5 separate regions of the Homo sapiens genome follow, and regions 1, 3, 4 and 5 are each linked to region 2. The links are contacts of gene promoters, found by promoter capture Hi-C in human tissues and cell types (Jung and others, 2019). All regions are on one chromosome and are shown on one strand. Each heading gives the region's core, a stretch centred on a gene start or on the middle of the fragment in contact. The rest is flanking DNA. Distances are from core to core; before and after follow the strand shown.

Region 1 (2,821 bases), core at 205-2,704, 100 kb before region 2:
TAGACTTGGCTACAGACAAGGAAACAGTGCAGAGTTTGGCCTTACTGAAGATTATGAAGCAGTTCTGCAACCTTTCTCAAACTCCTATCAGCTACAGTCCACAAGTGGTCCTTCCCATCAAGAGATCTGCAGGGAAACAGCCAGCCATAATCCTGGAGGCAGGCCTGTGTATCCTGGCCTCAGCTGTGCTCCCTGAAGCAGCCCTGTGACTCAGTTCTAACCCTCACAGCCACAATCCATGGCCAGCTGTACACACTCAGGGACCCACATAGAGACTTTGAAAACTGTTCCCAGGTAGTCAGCAGAAGCCAAACCCATTCATACACCTTGTATTTGACCCATCATATGCAGACAAACTTTAAACCCTAACCTACTGCCTGCCATATAGATTAATGTCCTCAAGGATATTTAATCTTTCCATGGCCCAGAAAGAATCCATGAGTGTCGAAATCTCTGGTAACACAATCATCAAAGGCAGACCCCACAGCACCCTTGTGAGCCAGCTACTACAACCCTTCTTCTCTGCAACCGCAGAGGTAATCTCAGCCTGTGGACCAAACAAATGGGAGATCTTTGTCAGGCCTCTGAGCCCAAGCTAAGCCATCATATCCCCTGTGACCTGCATGTATACATCCAGATGGCCTGAAGCAACTGAAGATCCACAAAAGAAGTGAAAATAGCCTTAACTGATGACATTCCATCATTGTGATTTGTTCCTGCCCCCACCCTAACTGATATATTCTCCCCCAACCCTTAAGAAGGTACTTTGTAATATTCTCCCCCACCCCGCCCTTAAGACGGTACTTTGTATGCCTATCCCAAACCTGTAAGAACTAATGATAATCCCACCACCCTTTGCTGACTCCTTTTTTGGCCTCAGCCCATCTGCACCCAGGTGAAATAAACAGCCTTGTTGCTCACACAAGCCTGTTGGTGGACTCTCTTCATATGGACACGCCTGACATTTGGTGCCAAGGACCCAGGTCAGAGGGACTCCTTTGGGAGACCAGTCCCCTGTTCTCGCCCTCACTCTGTGAGGAGATCCATCTATAACCTCAGGTCCTCAGACCAACCAGCCCAAGGAACATCTCATCAATTTCAAATCAGGTAAGCAGTCTTCACTCTTCTCTAGCCTCTCTCACTACACTTCAATCTTCCTCTCTCGCTACCCTTCAATCTCCCTGTCCTTCCAATTCCAGTTCTTTTTCCTCTCTAGTAGAGACAAAGGAGACATATTTTATCTGTGGACCCAAAACTCTGGCGCCGGTCACAGACTCAGGAAGACAGTCTTCCCTTGATGTTTAATCGTTATGGGGATGCCTGCCTGATTATTCACCCACATTCCATTGGTGTCTGATAACCGCAGGGATGCCTGCCTTGGTCATTCACCCACATTCCCTTGGTGGCAAGTCAATTGCGGGGACACCTGCTTGGCTGCTCACCCACATTGCAGCCCAGGGCTGCTCACCCACCCTCTTCTCTTTGTCTCTACCTTTCTCTTTAAACTTACCTCCTTCATTATGGGCAAACTTCCACCCTCCATTCCCCCTTCTTCTCCCTTAGTCTGTGTTCTCAAGAACTTAAAACCTCTTCAGTTCACATCTGACCTAAAGCTTAAATGCCTTATTTTCTTCTGCAGTACCACTTGGCCCCAATACAAACTCGACAGTAGTTCCAAGTGGCCAGAGAATGGCACTTTCGATTTGTCTATCCTACAAGATCTAGATAATTTTTGTTGAAAAATGGGCAAATGGTCTGAGGTGCCTGACGTCCAGGCATTCTTTACACATTGGTCCCTCCCTAGTCTCTGTTCCCAATCCGACTCATCCCAAATCTTTCTTCTTTCTCTCCTGTCTGTTCTTTCAGTCTCCAACCCAAGATCTGAATCCTTTGAATCCTTGTTTTCTACAGACTCATCTGACCTCTCCCCTTCTCCCCAGGCTGCTCCTCGCCAGGCTGAGCCAGGTCCCAGTTCTTCCTCAGCCTCTGCTCCCCCACCCTATAATCTTTCTATCACCTCCCCTCCTCACACCCAGTCTGGCTTACAGTTTCGTTCTGCAACTAGCCCTCCCCCACCTGCCCAACAATTTCCTCTTAAAGAGGTGGCTGGAGCTAAAGGCACAGTCAAAGTTAATGCTTCTTTTTTCTTTATCTGACCTCTCCCAGATCAGTTAGCGTTTAGGCTCTTTTTCGTCAAATATAAAAACCCAGCCCGGTTCCTGGCCCGCTTGGCAGCAACCCTGAGATGCTTTACGTCCTAGACCCAGAGGGGCCAGAAGGCCGCCTTATTCTTTTTTTTTTTTTTTTTTTTTTTTTTTTTTTTGAGACGGAGTCTCGCTCTGTCGCCCAGGCCGGACTGCGGACTGCAGTGGCGCAATCTCGGCTCACTGCAAGCTCCGCTTCCCGGGTTCACGTCATTCTCCTGCCTCAGCCTCCCGAGTAGCTGGGACTACAGGCGCCCGCCACCACGCCCGGCTAATTTTTTGTATTTTTAGTAGAGATGGGGTTTCACCTTGTTAGCCAGGATGGTCTCGATCTCCTGACCTCATGATCCACCCGCCTCGGCCTCCCAAAGTGCTGGGATTACAGGCGTGAGCCACCGCGCCCGGCCCGCCTTATTCTTAATATGCATTTTATCACCCAGTCAGCTCCTGACATGAGAAAAAGCTTCAAAAATTGGAATCTGACCCTCAAACCCCACAACGGGAATTAATCAACCTCGCCTTCGAGGTGTACAATAATAGGGAGGAGGTAGCCAGACAGCAACGCATTTCTGAGTTACAGCTACTTGCCTCCACTGTAAGACAACCCACAACCACAT
Region 2 (2,757 bases), core at 109-2,608:
TCAGAAGGGACTGTCCCCACTTAGGCCCAGGTGTAATAAATCAACCTAAATGTCATTAACTTGACCCAGCTCCTTATAATGTTACCTAACATGACATAAGTATTTTGGTTTTAGCTTCACCCTTTCCACCTGCTGTGGGTTTCGCTTGGGCACTCATGGGTAATAACCAAGACGGAGTCACTGTGGTCAATCCCAGGCATGCTCAGATGCAACACTGTTATAGGGGAACTTTACCCCTCCCATTTGGGCAGAGCCCACAGAAGACTTCCTTGTTCTTGCCATATAAACTCAGCCCCATTTCTGGCACCCTGCTTTCATGTCCCCTCTTACTGCTGAGAGCTTTCCCTATGCTTAATAAATCCTATTCTGCTTTACTCACTCTCTGGTGTCTGTATGTCTTATTCTTCCTGGTCATGGGAAGAGAGCCCAGACGTGGTTGAACTGAGGAGACCACCACACTGGTACCAAACAGCAAGGGGGAGACAGTGATCTTCACGTGGACACTCTCAGCTTGCAGCCCCTGCTCTCTCTAGGGGCACTGTCCTACCCATCCTTCATCCTGAGGAGAAAAGTTGGTAGAGAGGCTGGTCCCTTACTTCCAGTAGAAAAGACGTGTTCAGGCCCTCACTTTCTTGAGGTCAGAGCCCTCATGGCTGTACTCGATGTGGCAGCCACCAGACATATGTAGCTACTGAGTACCTGGAATGTGGCTGGTTTGAGGTAAAATGTGCTGCAAACATAAAATACACAGTGAGTTTAGACGAATTAAATCAGAAATATACTTTATTTCTAATTATATATTGATCACATATTGAAACAATATTTTGGATACAATAGGTTAAAATATAAACAATTTCACTTGTTTCTTTTTATTATTTTTGATGTGGCTAATAAAAAATTGAAAATTCACAAATAGCTAACATTTTATTTTTTAAAGGATTGCTTCCCCCTTAAAATCCTACTCAAAAGACCAGAGGACAGAGAGGTTATGAAATCTAAAATATTAAAATAATTGTCATTATATTGTTTCCATTTGTGAACAAGTGTGTGTCTGTGTGTGTGCGCGCGCGTACGTACACAATTTATAAATGGGCGTAACCTTACACACCAGAAGGTTAAAAATGAACCCCCAACAGAGCCAAGCCTAGCACAGAAAGCCCTGACTGAAAATACCTGGAGGCACGAGTCTGTCTCTCTTGCCTCATTAAGTGCACTGTGTGGTGGCAAGTTCTGTCACTCAAATTCTGAGCGTGGGGAGCTTGGTATCTTATCCAATCAGAGCGCTGGATTGAGAACTGCCCAATCAGGCGCGCAGCCGGAGAGGAGGGGGCGGCATCCGGGATCTGGCGCGGCTTTTGCCTTTTGCGCCAGCGTGAGCTCGGTTAGGGTCTCCACGGCCGTGCTTTCACCCCTCAGGGAGGCGTCGGTGATTCGGTCACAGCCTCAGCCTCCGTCGCTCTGTGACCTGCGGGTATTGGATGATTCGTAGCTGAGACTCCGCTACACCCCTGAAGTGGGGAAATGGTGAGTGTGGGGGCAGGGCGTCCCAAGGCTGGGGAGGCCTCATCCGAACCGGCGGGAAATGGCGGCGGCGGGACGGAGTCTGCGAACGGAGTCTCCGCTGCCGCCGCTCAGCCCTCAGTCCTTGGTCCCTTCCGGTGAGGGACCCGGGTTCATGTCGGTCCCCGCAAGGCGGCTTTGGCCCAGCCTGCAGCCCTACTTGTGCAGCTCTGCGCCCGCAGCCCCGCACCTTCCCTGGGCTGTGGGGTGAGGAGGAGCTCATCGGGAAAACGCCTGCGTGGCGTGCGAGGTGCCCGCCTGGGAGGAGCTGTGGTCCGGTCGTCGAGTCCCTACTTTACCCTGTTCGGAATAAGATCGAGGCCCTATCAAAACATAGAGTTCATGTGAGCAAATGGGGACTAATTAATGGGACAGCCCCGGGCATGGCTTGTGGTTTGGGGGCTGCCAGCGGGTCTTGAAGGAAAAGCTTTTGTGAGGTGTGTGAGGAAGCGAAGCAAATCACCCGCCCGCTCCAACTTGCCCACCAGTCCCCTTGCCCTGTGCGCCTCCTCCGCGTGGCTGTTCCTGAGTGGCATCTTTTAGAATACGCTGGTGTGGGCGCGCACAGCGCTTCGCTGAGTTCTGTGAGTAGTTCTGCCACATTATTGAACTTGAGGAGGGTGTGGGCGCCCCTGGTTTGTAGGCAGGCGTTCAGAAATGAAGACGGGTGTCCAGAGGCAGGGACTGCCGTCTGCAGGGGGGGGGCAGCTGCGGGAAGAGCGCTGAGCTTGTGGGGTCTTCGCTGACTCTGGGTGGTGTCGTTAGTGAGTTGCTGGACACCGCGTTGGGGTTGGAGCATTGACTGATGTTGAGCAAACTCCGCACGTTTTCTGTCAGAAGAAAGACATGGCTGAGCCTGGGCTGGAGAAAGATGCCTGGTGTCTGCGGGAGGCGCGGCCGGGTTCTGCACATGTGCTGTCCCGCTGGGCACTGTCCTTTTCCTCCAGGTCTCCTTCCGGGGAGAGAAGGGACTGGGAACTTAGAGGAAAGGAGTTCTGAGAAACATCCCTTCCCTGCACCCTGCTGCCAGCCCCCACTTAATGCTAACCCACTCCCGAGGACGCTCACTGGCCATTCGCATTGCCACACTCCTCCCAGGACAGGGTTCTACCCTCAGGAATTGTGCCCGTGACAGCTTTGCTCCTAGGGTATTCTGCCAATAACACACACAGTGCCAGGAAGACTCCTGGCTCATTT
Region 3 (2,700 bases), core at 135-2,634, 68 kb after region 2:
CAGCTGTGTATCCTGAAGCAGCCCTATGAATCAGTTCCACACCCTCTCAGCTGTGACCAAGGGTCAGTACTTCTCATCTAGGAATCTGTCCAATGACTGGGTTAGAAGATTTCTAAAAACCCAGCAAGAGCCACACAGCAGAAGCCATACCTGCTCACATGGATTATATCAGCTCTGTCATCTGCATATACAACTGGAGACTTTTTTTTCTCAGCACCAGTCTTACTGATCAAGATCCTGAAGAAAGTTCAGTCTTCCTAGAAAATAGACAGAATCCACAACAGTCTGATGCCCTAATAACAGGTCTGCCAAGCATGAACTTCACTGTGATCCAGATCCAATGCACCTTACTGCAAACTCACTGGAAATCTCATCAGCACAGAGATCCAATAGGAGAAAATATTTACCACCCCAAACTAATCTATAATGACTGCAAGAGATATTTACTCCTTCAGATGCAAGGACATAAAAACAAGGCATCACAGACCATGAAAGATCAGGCAAATGTAACACCACCAAAAGAAACTAAAAATTCTCTAGTAACCACTTACAGTAAAACACAGATCTAAAAAATGGCTAAGAATTCAAAATAATTATCTTAAAGAATCTCAATGAGATGCAAAAAAACCACACATTACTAAATTTTTTTTGCAACAACGTATGAACAGAATCACAATTATAATAAAGAGAAACCATTAAAACAGAACCAGTTAGATATGCTGGAGCTGAAGTACACAATAGGAGATCTAAAATATTTAAGAGAAAGCTTTAACAGGAGACTCCGTTATACAGGAAAAAAAAAATCAGCAAATGTAAAAGTTATTTGAAAGTTCCTAGTTAGAATTTAAAAAAAGAATGCGAGTGAATAAAGCATTTGTCCCCCATATTTCATAATCAATGGTAAGGATGTACAATTTTAGGAGGTTCATGAGAAAGAAAAAAATTTTTAAATTGTTTAAAGATATAATGTCTTAAATTCTTCCCAATCTTGGAAGGAATATAGATATTAAATTTAAAAGCTCAAAATGTCTATAGCAAGAAGAATCTAACAGAAATTGTCCAGAACACATTATAATTAAACTGCCAAAATTCAAAGACAAACAAAAAAGAAAAAAAAAAGAAAGAATGAGTAATACCCAGTATGAGTATAATAATTTAGTTGCACATTTTAAAATAACTAAAAGAGCATAATTGGATTGTTTATAACCCAAATTATAAATGCTTGAGGGGATGGATATACCCCATTTTTGATTATGTGATTGTTACACATTACATGCCTGGATCAAGACATCTCATGTGCCACACAAATATATACATGTCCTACATACTCACAAAAATTAAAATTAAAAAAAGAAAACCCTTTACCTGGGGTTTGCCTGCAAAACCTAAAATAAAGAGTAAAAAGTAAAAAAAAAAAAAAAAAAGCAAGAGAAAAGAGATTCTTCACATTCAAGGGAACTCCTATAAGGTTATCAGCAGATTGCCCAGCAAAAACCATGCAAGCCACACAGGAGTGAAACCATATATTTAAAATGCAAATGAAGGAAGAAAAAGAAAAAACCTTGACAACTAAGAAGACGATACCTGACAGAGCTGTTCTTTAGAAATGAAGTATCAAAATCTTCTCAGATTAAAAAAAAGTTGAAAGTTTTAATCACTAGACCTGACTTACAACAAATGCTAATGAGAATTTAAGTTGTAATGGAATCCAAACTTACAACAAAATTATAAATCTTACTGAAAATCATATATACATAGTCGAATTTAGAAGGCTATAAAACTAATTATGGTGAATGAATTAATCACATTTAACTCTGGTATAAAAGCTACAAGAAAAAATTATTAAGACTACATATAGCTTCAATAATTTGTTAAAGGGTATACGATATAAAAAGATGTAGAGTGTGACATAAATACTATGTTGAAGGGAGTAAAATTGTTTAATTTTTCTATACATAGAAGCTAACTTTTGCTTGAGGCCAGGAGTTCAAAACTAGTCTGGTCAATATAGCAGGACCCTGTCTCTTAAATAAGTACATAAATAAAATTAAATAAAGATCTCAGAAAGCTATTTAGTCTTTTAAAAAAAGAAGCAGCTGGGCCTGATGGCTCATGCCTGTAATACTAGCACTTTGGGAGTCCAAGGCAGGTGGACTGCTTGAGCCCGGGAGTTCAACACCAGCCTGAGCAACTTGGCAAAACCCTGTCTCTACAAAAAATACTAAAAAAATTAGCCAGACATGGTGGCATGTGCTTGTAGTCCCAGCTACTTGGGAGGCTGAGGATTGCTTGAGCCTGGGGAGGTCAAGTCTGCACTGAGCTATGAATGTACCACTGCACTACACTGGGTAACAAAGCAAGACCCTATCTATACAAACCAAAAGCTAAATTCTTATCTGAAATTAGATTTTATAACTATGAGATGTTTTACATAAGCTTCCTGGAAATTACAAAAAAAACTGTAGTGGTTACACACAAAAGAAAAAGAATGCATATAACAACAAAAACAACAAAAATTCAAGAAAATACAGGGGAAGACAGCATGAAACAATGAAAAAACAAACTACTAAATGGTCAGAAAACAGTAAGAAAATGGCAGTAAGTTCTTATCAATCAGTAATTCATTTAAATATATAAAGATTTAGTTATCCAATAAAAACACATTGCTATAGTTTGAGCGTCCCCTCCAAAATTCATGTT
Region 4 (2,700 bases), core at 31-2,530, 85 kb after region 2:
TAAGCCAAACACAGAAAGACAAAGAAACTCCTTGTTTTAAGTTAGATGAGAAATCTAAAAAAGTACACTCATAGAAGCAGAGTATAAAATGGTGGTTGCTAGTGCCTGAGGGTAGAAATATGAGGAGATGTTCAAAGAGTACAAATTTTTAGTTATAAGTTGAGTAAGTCTGAGAAATCTAATGTAAATTAGCATTAGATTAGCCAAATAGCATTGTGTTTATAGTTAGTAATACTGTAATGTATGCTTACAATTTGCTACTACAGTAGATCTTAAGTGTTCTTACTCCAAAAAAAATTGAGGTACTAGATGTGCTCATCAACTTGACTGTATTTTGTTTCACAGTGTACATGCGTATCAAATCATTACATTGTATACATTAAATATATAGTTATACCATTTTTATTTATCAGAAAAATCCATGTCACACAAACACAGATGTACAGTAAGTACTCAATGTTCAAAATAGGTTCTTGAAAACTGCGTCTTTAAATAAAACAATGTCGGTATATGACATTCAAACATAACCTTGTTTCTATCAATTCAACTATAGTAATTCTGCCTCTGGGTTTAAGCGATTCTCCTGCCTCAGCCTCCTGAGTAGCTGGGATTACAGGTGCATGCCACCACACCCGGCTAATTTTTTGTATCTTTAGTACAGATGGGGTTTCACCATGTTGGCCACGCTGGTCTCAAACTCCTAACCTCATGATCCACCCACCTCGGTCTCCCAAAGTTCTGGGATTACAGGTGTGAGCCACCGTGCTGAGCCAAAATTAGTTTTCTTAAACAATATATTGCTTCACTTACAGTTTCCATGAAACTATCAACAATGTTAAGTGAGAATTTACAATACACATATATAACTTATATGGGTGGGTGTATGTGTGAGACCCACATTTTTATATAGATATCAATAGATCTCAATGATGAAACCCCAGTAGGCTTCTTTTTTTTTTTTTTTTTTTTTTTTTGAGACGGAGTCTCACTCTGTTGCCCAGGCTGGAGTGCAATGGCGCCATCTCGGCTCACTGCAACCTCGGCCTCCCGGGTTCAGCGATTCTCCCACCTCAGCCTCCCGAGTAGCTGGGATTACAGGTGCCTGCCACCACGCCCAGCTAATTTTTGCAATTTTAGTAGAGATGGGGTTTTGCCATGTTGGCCAGGCTGGTCTTGAACTCCTGACCTCAGGTGATCCACCCACTTCAGCCTCCCAAAGTGCTGGGATTACAGGCGTGAGCGACTGCGCCTGGCCCCCAGTAGGCTTCTTACTAAAAGTATAAGATAATAGTTATTAAGAAATAATAATATACACTTAGCAGTGTTCTAAGCTAGTTAATGACAGTGCATTTAAGAAATCTTGAAGGTGAGTAGATACTTTAATCAAGTGGTGCCCAATGCTATGAATGTAAGAACATTTCACTTATCTGTTGCAGTAGCTATCATAAAAATTATTTATGAAATTTTTTTTAAAGTTCATCAGTTATCATTAGTGTTAGTGTATTTTATGTGTGGCCCAAGATAATTCTGCTTCCAATGTGGCCCAGGGAAGCCAAAAGGTTGGAAAACCATGCTTTAAACTATATTATAATTTGAAAATTTACACATCTAGAGTTTAAATTACAAATCTCAGTTTATACTAAATCAATAACATTTTGAAGTACAATCAACAATACATTTTTCATATTTAGGAAAATGCTTATCATTCTTATAAAATTGCTAAGAAAGAATTTTTGTAGAATTACATTTGCAACAGGATTAAAAATCACTAAGCAGAAAAGGTGCAACATCTGTCCCTAGTGTTCCTGGGATTTCTGAACCAAATTCCAATATGTCCACTACTTGCCTTACATATTTAGGCATGATACAAAATCAATATTTGAAAAAAATACGTTAACATAGAGCTCCTCAATAACACAATTATTCCTATATTTCCAAAAGCAATGGAACAGCAGTGAGATCATGCAGCCCCTTATAAGTGATAAAGTAGACATTGGCTATCCCTGTAAACTTGAAGGGAGATCTCTAAAGAAAAAAGAGGGCTGGGTGTAGTGGCTCATGCCTGTAATCCCTGCATTTTGGGAGGCCGAGGCAGGTGGATCACCTAAAGTCAGGAGTTTGAGACCAGCCTGGCCAACATGGCAAAACCCTGTCTCTACTAAAAATACAAAAATTAGCTAGGTGTATTGGCAGATGCCTGTAATCCCAGTCACCCAGGAGGCTGAGGCAGGAGAATTGCTGGAACCTGGGAGGCACAGGCTGCAGTGAGCTGAGATCACACCACTGTACTCCAGTCTGGGTGACAGAGCAAGACTCCATCTCAAAAAAAAGAAAAAAGAGAATTTTTAGAAGATTTAACAGCATGGGGCTGAAGATGCCCCTATTTGTGAACATGAGAAAAAATGCAGCCTTTTCAGAAATTATTTGCATTGAAGAAGTGCTTTCCAAAGTACATTTTAAGGCCTGACTTCCTTCATCACCTTTGGTCCCCTTGCCTGTGTCCTCTCCTTCATTCACTCTCACCTACCTGGGGCTTTGGCTACTGTCTCATGTGTCTTCCCATTAAAGGGCTCTTTTCTTTGCTCCAAACAGGTGATCAGGTCTGAGTTAAAGAGAGCAACACCTGTTTTATTTAAAAAATAAGATAAAATAACGTGACTACTGCTGAAGATTCTCCAATTACCAACCTAGTACTATGCT
Region 5 (2,700 bases), core at 11-2,510, 120 kb after region 2:
GATAGATTTTGAGGACCTATCTGGGAGTGACACAGAGCCAACAAAACGCCCAGCCCCAGCCAAGAATAGGGGTGAGTGAATTTGCAACCCTAGGAAACCACACTTCTCCCACAAATCTTTGCAACCCTTGTATTAGGAGAGCCCCTTGTGAGCCCACTTGACCAGGGCCTTGGGCCTGACACACAGAGTTGTGTGGAGTCTCAGTAGAGCAGCTGCTTAGACACACACAGAGACCCAGGAGCTTTACACACTTCAGTCCTGGGATTTCCAACAAAGGTGACTGCAACTCAGACAAGGTGGGAGGTCAGTGCATGCCTCCAGGAAGAGGCTGAATCCAGGGGGATGAGCAGCAACAGTCTGTGGGCCCCACTTCCACTGCACCTCATATGATAAGACCCACTGGCTTGGAATTCCAGCCACCAGCAACAGCCTAGCACCTGACTGAGATGGGTCAGAGCCCCTGGGGGAGGGCCAGGCCACTATCTTTGCTGCTTGGACGTTGGCTTTGGAGAATCCAAACAATCCGAATGAGGAAGGGACCCCACAGCACAGCACAGCACAGCTGTTTTACCAAGATATGGCCAGGCTGCTTCTTCAAATAAAAACCCAATCCATTATCCTCGCTGGATGAGTCTTCCCAGCAGGGGCCTCCAGCCAGCCCCACCCATATTCTATGAACAGAGTTCTGATTTCTCCCTAAGATAGAGTGCTCAGAAAGGGGAAGATGGGCTGCTACCTTAGCTGTTTGTGTGACTCAGCCATTCCAGCTTATGAGTCCAAGCTGACTGGGACAAAGGTGGTTCCCCAGCATGGAATGGCTGTTTTGTCGAGGCATGGCATAACTGTTTCTTTAAATGGGACCCCAATCCATTTTTCCTTGCTGGGCAGGTACTCCCAGCCAGGGCTTCCTGCCACCCATGCCCATGTTCTAAGGCCAACAGAGTTCTAATTTCTCCCTGGGATGGGGGTGCCCAGGAGGCAGAGTGGGTCACCATCTTTGCTGTTTGGGCATCTCAGCCAGTGCAGCCTGTGGGCCTTGGAGAGCCCAAGCCAATTGGGGGCTGAACAAATCCCCCCAACACAGTACAGTTGCTCTACCAAAACACAGCCAGACTCCTCCTTTAATTGGTTGCTCATCCCCTTTCCCCTGATTGGGTGAGACCTCCAAACCATGGTCTCCAGCCACCTCCTACAGTTGTGTTCAGGCAGTCAACAGGTCAGTACCCCCTGGGATGGAGACCCCAGAGGAATGTGCATGCTGCCATCCTTGCTGTATTGCAACCTTAACTGGTGATACTTCCAGGTACTTAAAAAACCAAGGTGACTGCCAGGCACAGTGGCTCACATGGCTCATGCCTGTGATCCCAGTGCTTTGAGAGGCTAAGGTGGGTGGATCTTGAGGTCAGGAGTTCGAGACCAGTCTGGCCAATATGGTGAAACCCTGTCTCTACTAAAAATACAAAAATTAGCTGGGCGTGGTGGTGCACACCTGTAGTCCCAGCTACTCGGGAGGCTGAGGCAGAAGAATCGTTTGAACCCTGGAGGTGGAGGTTGCAGTGAGCCGAGATCACACCACTGCACTCCAGCTTGGGCTACAGAGCGAGACTCCGTCTCAACAAAAAACAAAAACAAAAACAAAAAAAACCCCAAAAAACAAAAAAACAAAAAAACCAAGCCTGGAGTGGACCCCCAGCAAACCACAGTAGCCCTACAAAAGAGCAACCAGATGATTAAAAGAAAAACAAACAGACAAACGACAACAAAAAACCCCCACAATAACCCCATCCAAAGGTCAGCAACCTGAAAGATTGAAAATAGATAAGCCCACAAAGATAAGAAGTGGCACAAACATGATGAAAACTCAAAAAGTAAGGGTGCACCATGTTCTCCAAATGACTGCAACACCTCTCCAACAAGAGTTCAGAACTGGGCTGAGGCTGAAATGGCTGAAATGATAGAAGTAGGCTTCAGGATGTGAATACAAATGAGCTTTGCTGAGCTAAAGGGGCACATTGTAACCCAGTGAGCTAAGAATCAAGTTAAAACAATGCAGGAGCTGACAGCCAAAATAGCCAGTATACATAGAAACATAAATGACCTGATAAAGTTGAAAAAACACACTACAAGACCTTCACAATGTAATCACAAGTATTAATAGCACAATAGACCAAGTGGAGGAAAAACATCACAGAGCTTGAAGACTGTCCTTTCTGAAATAAGACAGGCAGACATGAATAGAGAAAAAAATGAAAAGGAATGAACAAAACCTCTGAGACGTATGAACATATTTCAGGATATCATCCAGGAGAACTTCCTCAACCTAGCTAGACAGGCCAACATTCAAATTCAGGAAATGCAGAGAACCCCAGTAAGATACTCCATGAAAAGACCATTCCCAAGTCATATAATCACCAGATTCTCCAAGGTCAAAATGAAAGAAAAAATGTTAAGGCAGCCAGAGAGAATGGTCAGGCCACCTACAAACAGAAGCCCATCAGACTAACAGCAGACCTCTCAGTGGAAACCCTACAAGCCAGAAGAGATTGGGGGCCAATATTCAACATTCTTAAAGAAAAGAAATTCCAACCCAGAATTTCATATCTGGCTAAGTTAAGCTTCATAAGTGAAGGAGAAATAAAATTTTTTCAGACAAGCAAATACTGAGGGAATTTATTACCAGCAGACTTGCCAGACAAGATC

Evidence for each region. Contacts are between HindIII fragments. The study calls those that stand out against the background at their distance.
Region 1: a contact is called between a fragment that was not itself captured here and the fragment with the promoter of ZNF732 in region 2, in 2 of the 25 tissues and cell types used here (lymphoblastoid cells and spleen).
Region 3: a fragment that was not itself captured here is called in contact with the fragment with the promoter of ZNF732 in region 2 in 5 of the 25 tissues and cell types used here (bladder, dorsolateral prefrontal cortex, lymphoblastoid cells and 2 more).
Region 4: a contact is called between a fragment that was not itself captured here and the fragment with the promoter of ZNF732 in region 2, in 5 of the 25 tissues and cell types used here (dorsolateral prefrontal cortex, heart right ventricle, mesenchymal stem cells and 2 more).
Region 5: a contact is called between a fragment that was not itself captured here and the fragment with the promoter of ZNF732 in region 2, in 9 of the 25 tissues and cell types used here (adrenal gland, bladder, dorsolateral prefrontal cortex and 6 more).

The regions. Positions count from the first base shown.
Region 1 is chr4:407,053-409,873 of GRCh38, reverse strand. No RefSeq gene overlaps it. Among named protein-coding and RNA genes, the nearest start is that of MIR571, 58 kb to the right of the region's middle. The HindIII fragment of the contact is 3,046 bases long and covers 1-2,821 here.
Region 2 is chr4:304,075-306,831 of GRCh38, reverse strand. ZNF732 (zinc finger protein 732) reads left to right here and starts at 1,358. Exons shown (of 4, transcript NM_001137608.3): 1 at 1,358-1,524. The coding sequence starts at 1,522. The HindIII fragment of the contact is 17,523 bases long and covers 1-2,757 here.
Region 3 is chr4:236,357-239,056 of GRCh38, reverse strand. It overlaps the pseudogene ZNF876P. Among named protein-coding and RNA genes, the nearest start is that of ZNF732, 68 kb to the left of the region's middle. The HindIII fragment of the contact is 5,262 bases long and covers 1-2,700 here.
Region 4 is chr4:219,217-221,916 of GRCh38, reverse strand. LOC124900642 (zinc finger protein 141-like) reads right to left here. Exons shown (of 2, transcript XM_047416470.1): 2 at 2,274-2,623. The coding sequence ends at 2,520. It also overlaps the pseudogene ZNF876P. Among named protein-coding and RNA genes, the nearest start is that of ZNF732, 85 kb to the left of the region's middle. The HindIII fragment of the contact is 6,520 bases long and covers 1-2,700 here.
Region 5 is chr4:186,159-188,858 of GRCh38, reverse strand. It overlaps a transcript of ZNF718 not described here. Among named protein-coding and RNA genes, the nearest start is that of ZNF718, 63 kb to the right of the region's middle. The HindIII fragment of the contact is 8,418 bases long and covers 1-2,700 here.